2 separate regions of the Homo sapiens genome follow, and region 1 is linked to region 2. The links are contacts of gene promoters, found by promoter capture Hi-C in human tissues and cell types (Jung and others, 2019). All regions are on one chromosome and are shown on one strand. The core of a region is centred on a gene start or on the middle of the fragment in contact, and the rest is flanking DNA. Distances in the headings are between cores, read along the strand shown.

What was found. The method cuts DNA at HindIII sites, captures the fragments that hold promoters and counts their contacts. A contact is called where the count stands out against the background at its distance.
Region 1: a fragment that was not itself captured here is called in contact with the fragment with the promoter of PDHB in region 2 in 1 of the 25 tissues and cell types used here (IMR-90 fibroblasts).

Annotation. Positions count from the first base shown.
Region 1 is chr3:58,634,241-58,639,570 of GRCh38, forward strand. FAM3D (FAM3 metabolism regulating signaling molecule D) reads right to left here. Exons shown (of 10, transcript NM_138805.3): 8 at 2,901-2,985; 9 at 2,054-2,180; 10 at 1-128. The coding sequence ends at 39. It overlaps FAM3D-AS1 (FAM3D antisense RNA 1), which reads left to right. Exons shown (of 4, transcript NR_134853.1): 4 at 1-200. Among named protein-coding and RNA genes, the nearest start is that of FAM3D-AS1, 30 kb to the left of the region's middle. The HindIII fragment of the contact is 6,650 bases long and covers 1-5,330 here.
Region 2 is chr3:58,432,430-58,437,201 of GRCh38, forward strand. PDHB (pyruvate dehydrogenase E1 subunit beta) reads right to left here and starts at 1,403. Exons shown (of 10, transcript NM_000925.4): 1 at 1,339-1,403; 2 at 1,202-1,255. The coding sequence starts at 1,380. LOC107986092 (a long non-coding RNA gene) reads left to right here and starts at 1,166. Exons shown (of 4, transcript XR_007095933.1): 1 at 1,166-1,813. RefSeq lists enhancers at 1,159-1,378, 2,421-3,030 and a silencer at 1,439-1,678. The HindIII fragment of the contact is 10,584 bases long and covers 1-4,772 here.

The DNA.
Region 1 (5,330 bases), core at 1,683-4,182, 200 kb after region 2:
TTCTTCAGGCCCCTGGCTGAGGAAGAGCCACAGCCACCCTAAAATGGCTTCGGGGGCATGCAGCCCTCCATCTCCAGCAGCTCTGGCCATCCCTCGTATTTGTTTGTGTCTGGGCTGTTCTTTAAGAACTAGAGAGAGAGAAGACAGAGAAATATAGGCAGTGAGTGAGGCTGTTCAGAACTCATGCCCACATGGACACTGTGCTCTAAACCTAAATGGGGGTGTGGGATGTTATTAACCCACTTCACAGATGGGGAAACTGAGGCTCAGAGAGGGGATGCAACTTGCTCAAGATCTCAGAGATGGGATCAGAGCCCAGTTAACTGCTCTCACGCCCTGAAGGGTAACCAGTTGTTGGAGAGATCTGGCCCCTCCCCACAAATTCTCTGTGTCCCTCTAGGATACCTCAAATAACAATAATGATAGCAACAATAAAAAGAAGACTCCGACCATGTCTTGAGCGCTTGCTGTATGCCACGTGGTGTTCTGCAGGGCCTTATGTATTTAATCTGCACAGTGGCCCTAGGGAGTGTGCACTGTTTACATCCCATTCTACAGATGGGGAAGCTGAGGCACAGAGGGTCACTGCCCGTAGTCACTGGCTGGTAAGTGGCAGAACCACCACATAATATTAATTAATACTAATAATAAGGGGTGGGGTGCAGTGGCTCACACCTATCATCCCAGCACTTTGGGAGGGTAAGGAAGGAGGGTCACTTGAGGCCAGGAGTTCAAGACCAGCCTGGGCAACATGGGAGACCCTGTCTCTAGAAAACATAAAAAAATTAGCTGGATGTGGTGGCACATGCCTGTGGTCCCAGCTACTCAGGAGGCAGAGGCGGGAGGATCGCTTGAGCCCAGGAGGTCGAGGCTGCAGTGAGCCGAGATTGTGCCACTGCACTCCAGCCTAGGTGACAGAGCGAGACCCTATCTCTAAAATATATATATACTAGTAATAAGTATGTAAGAAGAATAAAATCACTTAGGATTGTGTCTAAAATGCTCAGGTTTGGATTATGAAAGAAAAAAACGTAAATGGCAAAATCTGCTGTTGGAATCATTGTGGCTGACTCTCAGGAATTAAAAAAGAGATTCTAGATGCTACCTGCCTAAAACCCAGTTTCCCAAGTGTGAGGACTAAGAACAGACCGGCTTAGTCCCATTAGGGTGCTTGGTTCATTTTTGTGTGTCGGTCCCGGCCAGCTGGTTGCAGATGGATGAAGATGATGCTGGGCTTCCTGTACTCCCACGCCTCCTCTGTCTTGCCGGTTCCCCTGGGTCTGGAGCCCACGCTTTGGGGCAGGAAAGCACCACCTGCCCATGCAGCCTCAGACCTCTTGCCTCTTGCTAGGGCCCTGCTGCAGCACCCCCACAGGACATTCGGGAACCACACCCGGCCGCCCCCGCCCACCGGCCTCCTGCGTTCTTCACTGCGTTCAAGTAATTTCTAGTTACCCAAATACATCCTCTTAGAAACACACGCATACAGACCAAGACCACATTTTCTAGCTTAGGAAAGAAATCCTCCCATCCCAGTCCTGGTGCCCTTCCTAGAGCTCAGCACACGGTTCCCTGCACCTGCCCCCTCCAGCACCTCTTGTCTGATGATGGCATCGGCCTCCTCCCTGCCTTCTGACTTCCCTCCTCGTTTTCTCCATGCCTCGCCAGGGAGGCTGAAGGGATGGGGACAGGCATCCTGCTCCTTTCCCCGGGATCCCCTTCCCCGCCACACAGCTCCATGTCTCCATTTCTTTCTCGTTCCTTCATGCCTCACTTGCCCATCATCCTTCTTTTCTCCTTTTCCCTCTTCCTTTTCTGATAATTATCTGTATACCTGCGTATCTATATATGACCCAGCTTTTGCGAAATGGCCAAGGCAGCTTCCTGGCCAATCAGACCACCCTGGCCTTTGGAGTGAATGACAGCCAGGGGCCTCTCCCCAGACAATCCTCCCAATTTTAAGGCCCCTGGGAGGTGAATGGGTGACTCCTTCCTACCACCACCCAGCTCCTCATGCATCCTTCATAGGGCCGGGTTGTGGCCCAGAACCCACCTGCTCAAAGGGGCTTTTACCCCTGAGGTCTTTGGCTCCTATGAAGACCCAGCTGTCCCGGAAGCCCAGTTGTTTTGCGTAGGAACTCCCCAAGTCAGAGAAGAGTTTCCTGCTTTCATCGTTCATTCTGCAGAGGACCAGAGAGGATGGTCAGGATGCGGGGGTGGGTCGCAGGGGCATCAGGTGGTGGGATTCCCATGGGGCAAGGTTCCCACTCTTCTCCCCATTCAGCATCTGCCCTGGGGGTGTCCAGAGAACGTGGCTGCACTCAGGAAGGACAGGGTAAAGGGCTTCAAGACTTCCTCTCTAAAAGGGCTTCAGATGGGGCTGGAGATGTGTTAAAACAGTACTGCTCTATTTACAAATACAATACACATTCATTTGGAAAATATGGAAGATCACAAAGAAGTAACTAAGAAATACAGTCTCACCCCTCCTCCCCTTAGTGTGATCAGTGTATGTATTTCCATACAGTGTTTTTTTTTCCCCTCACTTAGCACTAGAGGGTGAGCGATTTTCCACGTCCTTAAATACTTTCCGCACCATCATTTTTGATGCAGTCTATCTTCATTTGTGTATATATCATATCCTATGTCACCGTATGTCATAGTTTCTGTAGCCAGTCAGCTGTTATTATTGGACAGGGAGAGGGTTTCCAGTTTTTCACTGTGGTAATGAAGGCTGTGATGAACCTCCTAGAACATTTCTTTGCATACTTGTCTGATAATTTCCTCGAGATAAGTTGCCAGAAAATGGATCTGGCAAAAGAGCAGAAAAGGGTGTGCAGGGTTTGAAGGTATTCAGTTTGCATCACTGTGTGGCCTGGCAGGTAGAGTTTTCTACTTACTTGGTCCCTGGATCGTCGTAGGAGGCCACCAGCACCAGTGCACCCCCCGGAATTTCTTTAAGGAATTTCACTAGGTGCATAACATCTGGGGGAGGAAGGAAAAGGTGCTGGTGATTTAGGGGAAATGAGCCCTGGTCATTCTCATGCTTGTCTACTGCCCCATGATGCAGGAGTCAGCTAGGCCCGGTGGACACTGGGCTGAGCTCAGAAGCCAGGAGGAAGAGCATCCCAGGTGGAGCTCCCTGTAGCCCTTGTCCTAGGGGAGGGCAGAGTGACCAGAGTGAGGGGAACTCATCCAGGTGATGTGGGGTGGCTTCTGGACACTGGAATTTAGAAATTCCCCTCGTGACAGGGATTTGCAGCTGAGGGTGACCACCACTGGTAGAAGGGCCCTTGTGTGCCTACCCCTCTGGGGACGAAGTGCCATCATCTCTCAGGTGCTCTGGGCCCTTTGCATACCCCAGACCCCATTCTACGCTGGACAATGCCCAGATTATCTGTGCTGACTTTAGGTGGTATAGCACGTGGCCTCAGACAACTGAGATCCCTGGGAGAGAATTCGAGTAGACTATGAATACAACTCTCCTGCTGTGTCAAGGAGCAAGGCTCTGCGTGTGTCTTTAATGCCTCCCTAACTTGCCAAGCTCTCTATTTAACAGAGAACAGCTCTAGGTTTAGCACCTGGGGGAGGCATCAGCATCCAGCTCACTGTGAAGAGGCTGATTTGTTTCCCTTGTGATTATTATTATTATTATTATTCTGACACAGAGTTTCTCTCTCGTTGCCCAGGCTGGAGTGCAATGGCGCGATCTGCGCTCATTGCAACCTCCACCTCCTGGGTTCAAGCGATTCTCCTGCCTCAGCCTTCCAAGTAGCTGGAATTACAGGCATGCGCCGCCATGCCTGGCTAATTTTGTGTTTTTAGTAGAATTGGAGTTTCTCCATGTTGGTCAGGCTGGTCTCGAACTCCCAACCTCAGGTGATCTGCCTGTCTCGACCTCCCAAAGTGCTGGGATTACAGGCATAAGCCACTGTCCCAGGGCCCTCCATTGTGATTATTTTTATGGTCACCTTCCCTGCATAACAAGTGATAATAGCTTTCCATTTAAGGCAGTAATATAGTTTCCTTTTAAGATATATTTACTTAGGTAAGAAAAAAAGTGATCCAATTTAAAGAAAAATACTAATAATGCAGATATTATTCTAGATATGGTGCAACTCGAGTGGGCTCAAGTTTGGGAACAAGCAGCCTAGTGGCTAAAGCAGAGACTATATCTGTCAAATGAGGATGAGTAACAGCCCTGCTTATAACCTCTATGAAGTGCAAATGTGACAATAACTTTGGGCATACAGTAAGCGTACTCTAATGGAACCAAAAATTATTAGCAGGATTGGCAGCATAATTTTCAGGACCCAGTGCAGAATGAAAATGCAGGGCCTTTTAATAAAAAATGATTAAGTATTTCAAGACCACGATGGCAGAGCATGAAGTCAAGTGTGAGATTCTTCCAAGCATGGGCCCCGTGTGACTGCCCTGTCCCCAGGTCATAGGCCCACAAAGCTGGCCTTGATTATTAGTATTCCAGTGCGGACCTCTAGGACCTTGGGGAAGAAGCCATTCTCCCAACTAAGGCCAGCTGCCAGCCAGCTCAGTGACAGAGGTTTCCGGTCAACCACCACAGTCACTCTTCTAAAGAAATGGCCCTTGAACTTTTATGACAAAAGGAGGGAGCTCTTAAAGCACCATTAATTTGTGTTGTTAGCAGATATTACGGTCTGGTGCTTGTCTGGATGGACGGTGGGTATTTGAAAAAATAAAACATGCCTTCTGCTAATGATCACCTCACTTTAAAAAGCCATCATCCCCTTTTGTTTCCTGAAGGGAAGGACTACTTGCTCACAATGCTTCTGTTTCTGGGTCCCCATCAGCCGTGGCTACATTCAAGTTTATCATAAGGCATTTTAAAGCTTAGTTTCATCTTTACGCTTTTTTTCCTTTTCATTCTGACAGATGATTTCCTTGCTTCTGAGTCATCTGGACGGAATGAGGGAAGAGGGGAGCGAAGGGGAAGAGGAGGGAAGGGAGAAGACTAACATAGCTTGCCTGGACCCCTCCACCAGTCAGGCTGGATACCCTTCCACCAATTATTTCAGGTTATCTAATCTTCACATCAATTTTATGGAGTGGAAACTATAGCTGCCTCTATGTCACAGATGAAGAAACTGAGGCTCAAGAGGCATCACTTGCTTCAGGTCATGCCGCCAGTAGTCTCTGACACCGGAGACTGGACGTTTTCCATAAACCTGGCCCCAGGCCACGCTGAACATCAGTAGGACTCCAGGCAGAATGTCTGGTCCTCAGCCCCTGGCCTGTCCCCATCTCCTGTTGCCCCTGTCCTCAGCTCTATCCTGTACCAGGAGGAGGGACCT
Region 2 (4,772 bases), core at 153-2,652:
CTCACACCTGTAATTCCAGCACTCTGGGAGGCCAAGGCAGGTGGATCACTTGAGGTCAGGAGTTCGAGACCACCCTGGCCAACATGGTGAAACCCATTCTCTACTAAAAATACAAAAATTGGCCGGGTGTGGTGGCGGGTGCCTGTAATCCCAGCTACTCGGGAGGCTGAGGCAGAATTGCTTGAACCCAGGAGGCAGAGATTGCAGTGAGCTGAGATAGTGCCACTGCACTCTAGCCTGGGCAGCAAGAGCAAAACTCCGTCTCAAAAAAAAAAAAGAAAATGTCGGGCTGAGCGAGGTGGCTCATGCCTGTAATCCTAGCACTTTGGGAGGCCAAGGCAGGCAGATCACTTGAGGCCAGGAGTTCAAGACCAGCCTGGGCAATATGGTGAGACCCTGTCTGTACTAAAAATACAAAAATTAGCCCGGTGTGGTGGCACCGGCATCTAATCACAGCTACTCAGGAGTGTGAGGCGCGAGAATCCCTTGAGCCCAGGAGGTGGAGGTTGCAGTGAGCTGAGATCGCGCCACTGCACTCCAACCTGGGTGACAGAGGGAGACTATCTCAAAAAAATATACATATATATATTATTCAGCCTTAGGAAAGAATCAAACTCTGACGCATGCTACAACATGGATGAACCTTGAGGACATTACGCTGAGATAAGCCAGACACAAAAGGACAAATGATGCCACTTATAAGAAGTTCTAGAATAGGCAACCTCATAAAGACAGAAAAGTACAACAGGGGTTACCAGGGGTTTGGGGAAGGGAAATGAGGAGTTACCGAGTAATGGACAGTTTCTGCTTGGGATGATTAAAAAGTTCTGGAAATGGATGGTGGTTAATGGTTGTACAACATGGTGAATGTACTTAATGCCACTGAATTATACACTTCTAAAAAGTACATTTTAAGTTAGGTCTATTTTGCTGCAATTTAAAGAAAAAAACATGGAGTGAGGGAGGAAACGCCTAGTCTTAGTTTTCCCCCATTGCCCAGCCAGCTGTGAGGTGGTGACTCGCCGGTGTGCTAATTGCCAGGCGGCGACAGAGGCAGCAGGAGCTCCACGGAGGATGCTGGCTCCGCAAACCCAAGGCCCACGGCGCCGGAAGGCCACAGCGCAGGCGCGACTCCGGCCTCCTTCCCGAGAGAAGGGGGGACCCTCCCCGCCCTCGTCCGACGAGCACCCGCGCCTGTTACCTGCAGCGCAGCCGGCGCGGTCCAGTGAAAGCGCCTCTTCAGCAGCCCGGAGACCTGGCAGGGAGAGAGGAAGATGACGGCGGGACGCAGGGTGGGCAGGGGTCGCGTGGGAATACAGGCCGCGCGCTGCTGCCTACCTCCCGAAGGGGTCTCCGCACCAAGCCAGACACCGCCGCCATCTTGGTCGTGTCCTCTATCCGCTGCCAAACGACAACAGAGGGGCCGGCAGACGTGAGCAGGCCCCGCCTCCACCGGCGCGGGCCAATGGCAAGGCGCGCCGGCTGCGTGACCCGCCCACCCGCCCACCGGGTGAGGGGCCGCGGGGCCGGGCTGAGGTGGCGTGTGGGTGGCCGTGCCCCTCTGCCTGGAGCCGCCTCAAATCAACTTTATTGACAGTAGGCGGTGACCGACAGGCGGGGTGCACGCTGGGCACACGTGCCTGGTCGGTGTTACTTGAAGCGTGGGGACTAGAAGTCAGACCCTGAGGAGCATGATCTCTGGAAGCTGGAGAGACCTTAAGAGTTAGGCCAACCTGTTGTGGGTGCTGGAATCCTTTGGGCACCAAGAAGTGCTTGCACACGCTCTACTGATGGGGAACTTAACACTTCATGAGTGAGTCTAGTCTTCCCTGGACAGTGCTGTCTGTTGATTCCTTATAATGCACATCATAGCTTTCATTGATTGCATTAAGCACCTACTGTGAGCCAAGCATTGAGATATGTGCTGTATAGCTCATTCTCACAGTACCCCACTTGGGTAATTAGTGTTATTATTATCTCCATTTTGAAGACGGTTAAACTGAAGCAGAAATTGATTAAATGAGCCGATATTTTAATTTAGGACTGTCTTGACTCTAAAGCATGGTCTTTTTCCCACTGCTTCCTAAAGCAGAAGTGGATTCCTGCTTGGGGGAAGGTTACAACAACTTTAGAGAAGGGCGGCCCTATGGATGTAGCAGGACAAGCCGCAGACGAAACTCCTCAGACACCGAGTTAAAGAAGGAAGGGGTTTATTCGGCCAGGGGCATGGGCAAGACTCTTGTCTCAAGAGCCGAGCTCCCTGAATGGGCAATTCCTGTCCCTTTTAAGGGCTCACAGCTCTAAGGAGGTGTGCGTGAGAGGGTCATGATTGATTGAGCAAGCAGGGGGTATGTGACTAGGGGCTGCAAGCACCGGTAATTAGACTGGAACAGGATAGGGATTTTCACAGTGCTTTTCTATACAATGTCTGTAATCTATAGTTAACATAACCGATTAGGTCGGGGTCGATCTTTACCAGGCCCAGGGTGTGGCACCAGGCTGTCTGTTTGTGGATTTCATTTCTGCCTTTTAGTTTTTACTTTTTCTTTCTTTGGAGGCAGAAATTGGGCATAAGACAATATGAGGGGTGGTCTCCTCCCTTATGGGGAGGTGCCAAACACTTGGCCATAGGGACAACCTCTGGAAGCTCATTAGTCTTAATTTGGCCCTTGGGGGTCAGATGGGACAATTGAGCACCCAGTCTCCACCCATCCCCAAGACATTCCAAACATTCCCTTCTATGGATCACAGCTGCAGGCTGCCAAATTAGGAATTTGCAACTTCCAGTAGGTTGCTGACTGGGAATGGGAGGGGGTGGAGGCAAAGGCAGAACAGGCGGATGCTGGGAAGTCTGTGGCAGCAACAGAGGCAGACTAGGAGGCAACTTCCAGATGGAGAGGAGGGGGACAGTTTTGAGATCTATTTGGGCTAGAATCAATAGGAATGCTGTAAGTGCTAGGGAAGAGCAGAGGAAAATTTTGGATTTTTGTCATTGCTGGATGGATAGATGGGGTAAGGGAGGAGCCTGGGGCAGTGTAAGTGCCAGGAGCTGGGGAAGTAAGAGTGTATTTTTGTTTATTTTTTGAGATGGAGTTTCACTCTGTCACCCAGGCTGAAGTGCAGTGGGCCTCACTGCAACCTCTGCCTCCCAGGTTCAAGCTATTCCCCTGCTTCAGCCTCCCGAGTAGCTGGGATTACAGGCACCTGCCACCATGCCCGGCTAATTTTTTTTATTTTTAGTAGAGATGAGTTTTCACTATGTTGACCAGGCTGATGTTGAACTCTTGACCTCAAGTGATCCACCCGCCTCAGCCTCCCAAAGTGCTGGGATTACAGGCATGAGCCACTGCAGCCAGCCTTTATTCTTTAGATGACTGGGACATACCCAGGTTGCCTGGAGCCTAGGGCCTAGTCAGGGCTAAAGGTAGAAATTTGGGGACAGCTGCATAGAGATGACATTTACTCTCTGGGACTGTTTCATCTGTAAAATGGATAGAAGATCTTCAAGATATGGAATCAACACCTTCTGAGTCTCCCTCACCTGCCACCATCGTCTAGTCCCAACTGTCCCTGCCAGGGCCTCAGGAATGGCCAGCACTTCCTAGACTGCCACAGCATCCCTGAGAAACTCCTGAACTTGAGATTTCAGCCCCCAAAAGTTTGTGGGTGGTGCTCAGAATGAAAAAGTGAATCAGTCCTTCCCACCTTTCCCACAACCTAGCACCAAAAGATTTCAGGATCAGATTTGCCAAGCAAAAGGAGATGTTACAGGAAAGCAGTCCCGATCGAGATCCCAAGAGAGAGTTCTTGGATCTCACACAAGAAAGAATTCAGGGCAAGTCCACAGTGCAAAGCAAAAGCAAGTTTATTAAGAAAGTAAAGCAATAAAAGAATGGCTACTCTATAGACAGAGCAGCCCTGAGGGCTGCTGATTGCCCATTTTTATGATTATTTCTTGATTTTATACTAAACAAGGGGTGGATTATTCATGCCTCCCCTTTTTAGACCATATAGGGTAACTTCTTGACATTGCCGTGGCATTTATAAACTGTCATGGCGCTGGTGGGAGTGTAGCAGTGAGGATGACCAGAGGTCATGCTCATCGCCGTCTTGGTTTTGGTGGGTTTTGGCCAGCTTCTTTCCTGCAACCTGTTTTATCAGCAAGGTCTTTATGACCTGTATCTTGTGCTGACCTCCTATCTCATCCTGTGACTGAGAATGCCTAACTGTCTGGGAATGCAGCCCTGTAGGTCTCTGCCTCATTTTACCCAGCTCCTATTCAAGATGGAGTTGCTCTGGTTCACATTCCTCTGACATTTGCCTCCTCCCTATTATGAGAGAAACTTTAATCCTAAAAGTTTCGGAGGGATGAAGATGCATCTTCTGTAACTTCTTCAGGCTGAATAGGGGTGATGATATTCCTGCTTAACTATTAGGGTCCCTTATGTTCAGAGTAGAGAGGAGCTCAGAAAACATCAGTATAGTGAGGGCCATTCATAACTCCAAGTTCTGACAAAAGGTGATATCTGGAAGATTAATAAGTATTCAGTTTAAGAAAACATTCAGTAAGCTTATCCTGCACTCCTACACAAAGAGTACAATAGCAATATATTCCACAAGAGTAAAGCAAAATAAGTAAAATTATCCCAAGTAAACTAAATTAGAAGGCTTTCCATGAACTGGGCAACTGTTGGAACCAAGCTGATGTGGGGTTGCTAGCTGATTCCAGTGTGTTCAGAATTAGAATATCGATTCAGATTTTTACATTACCC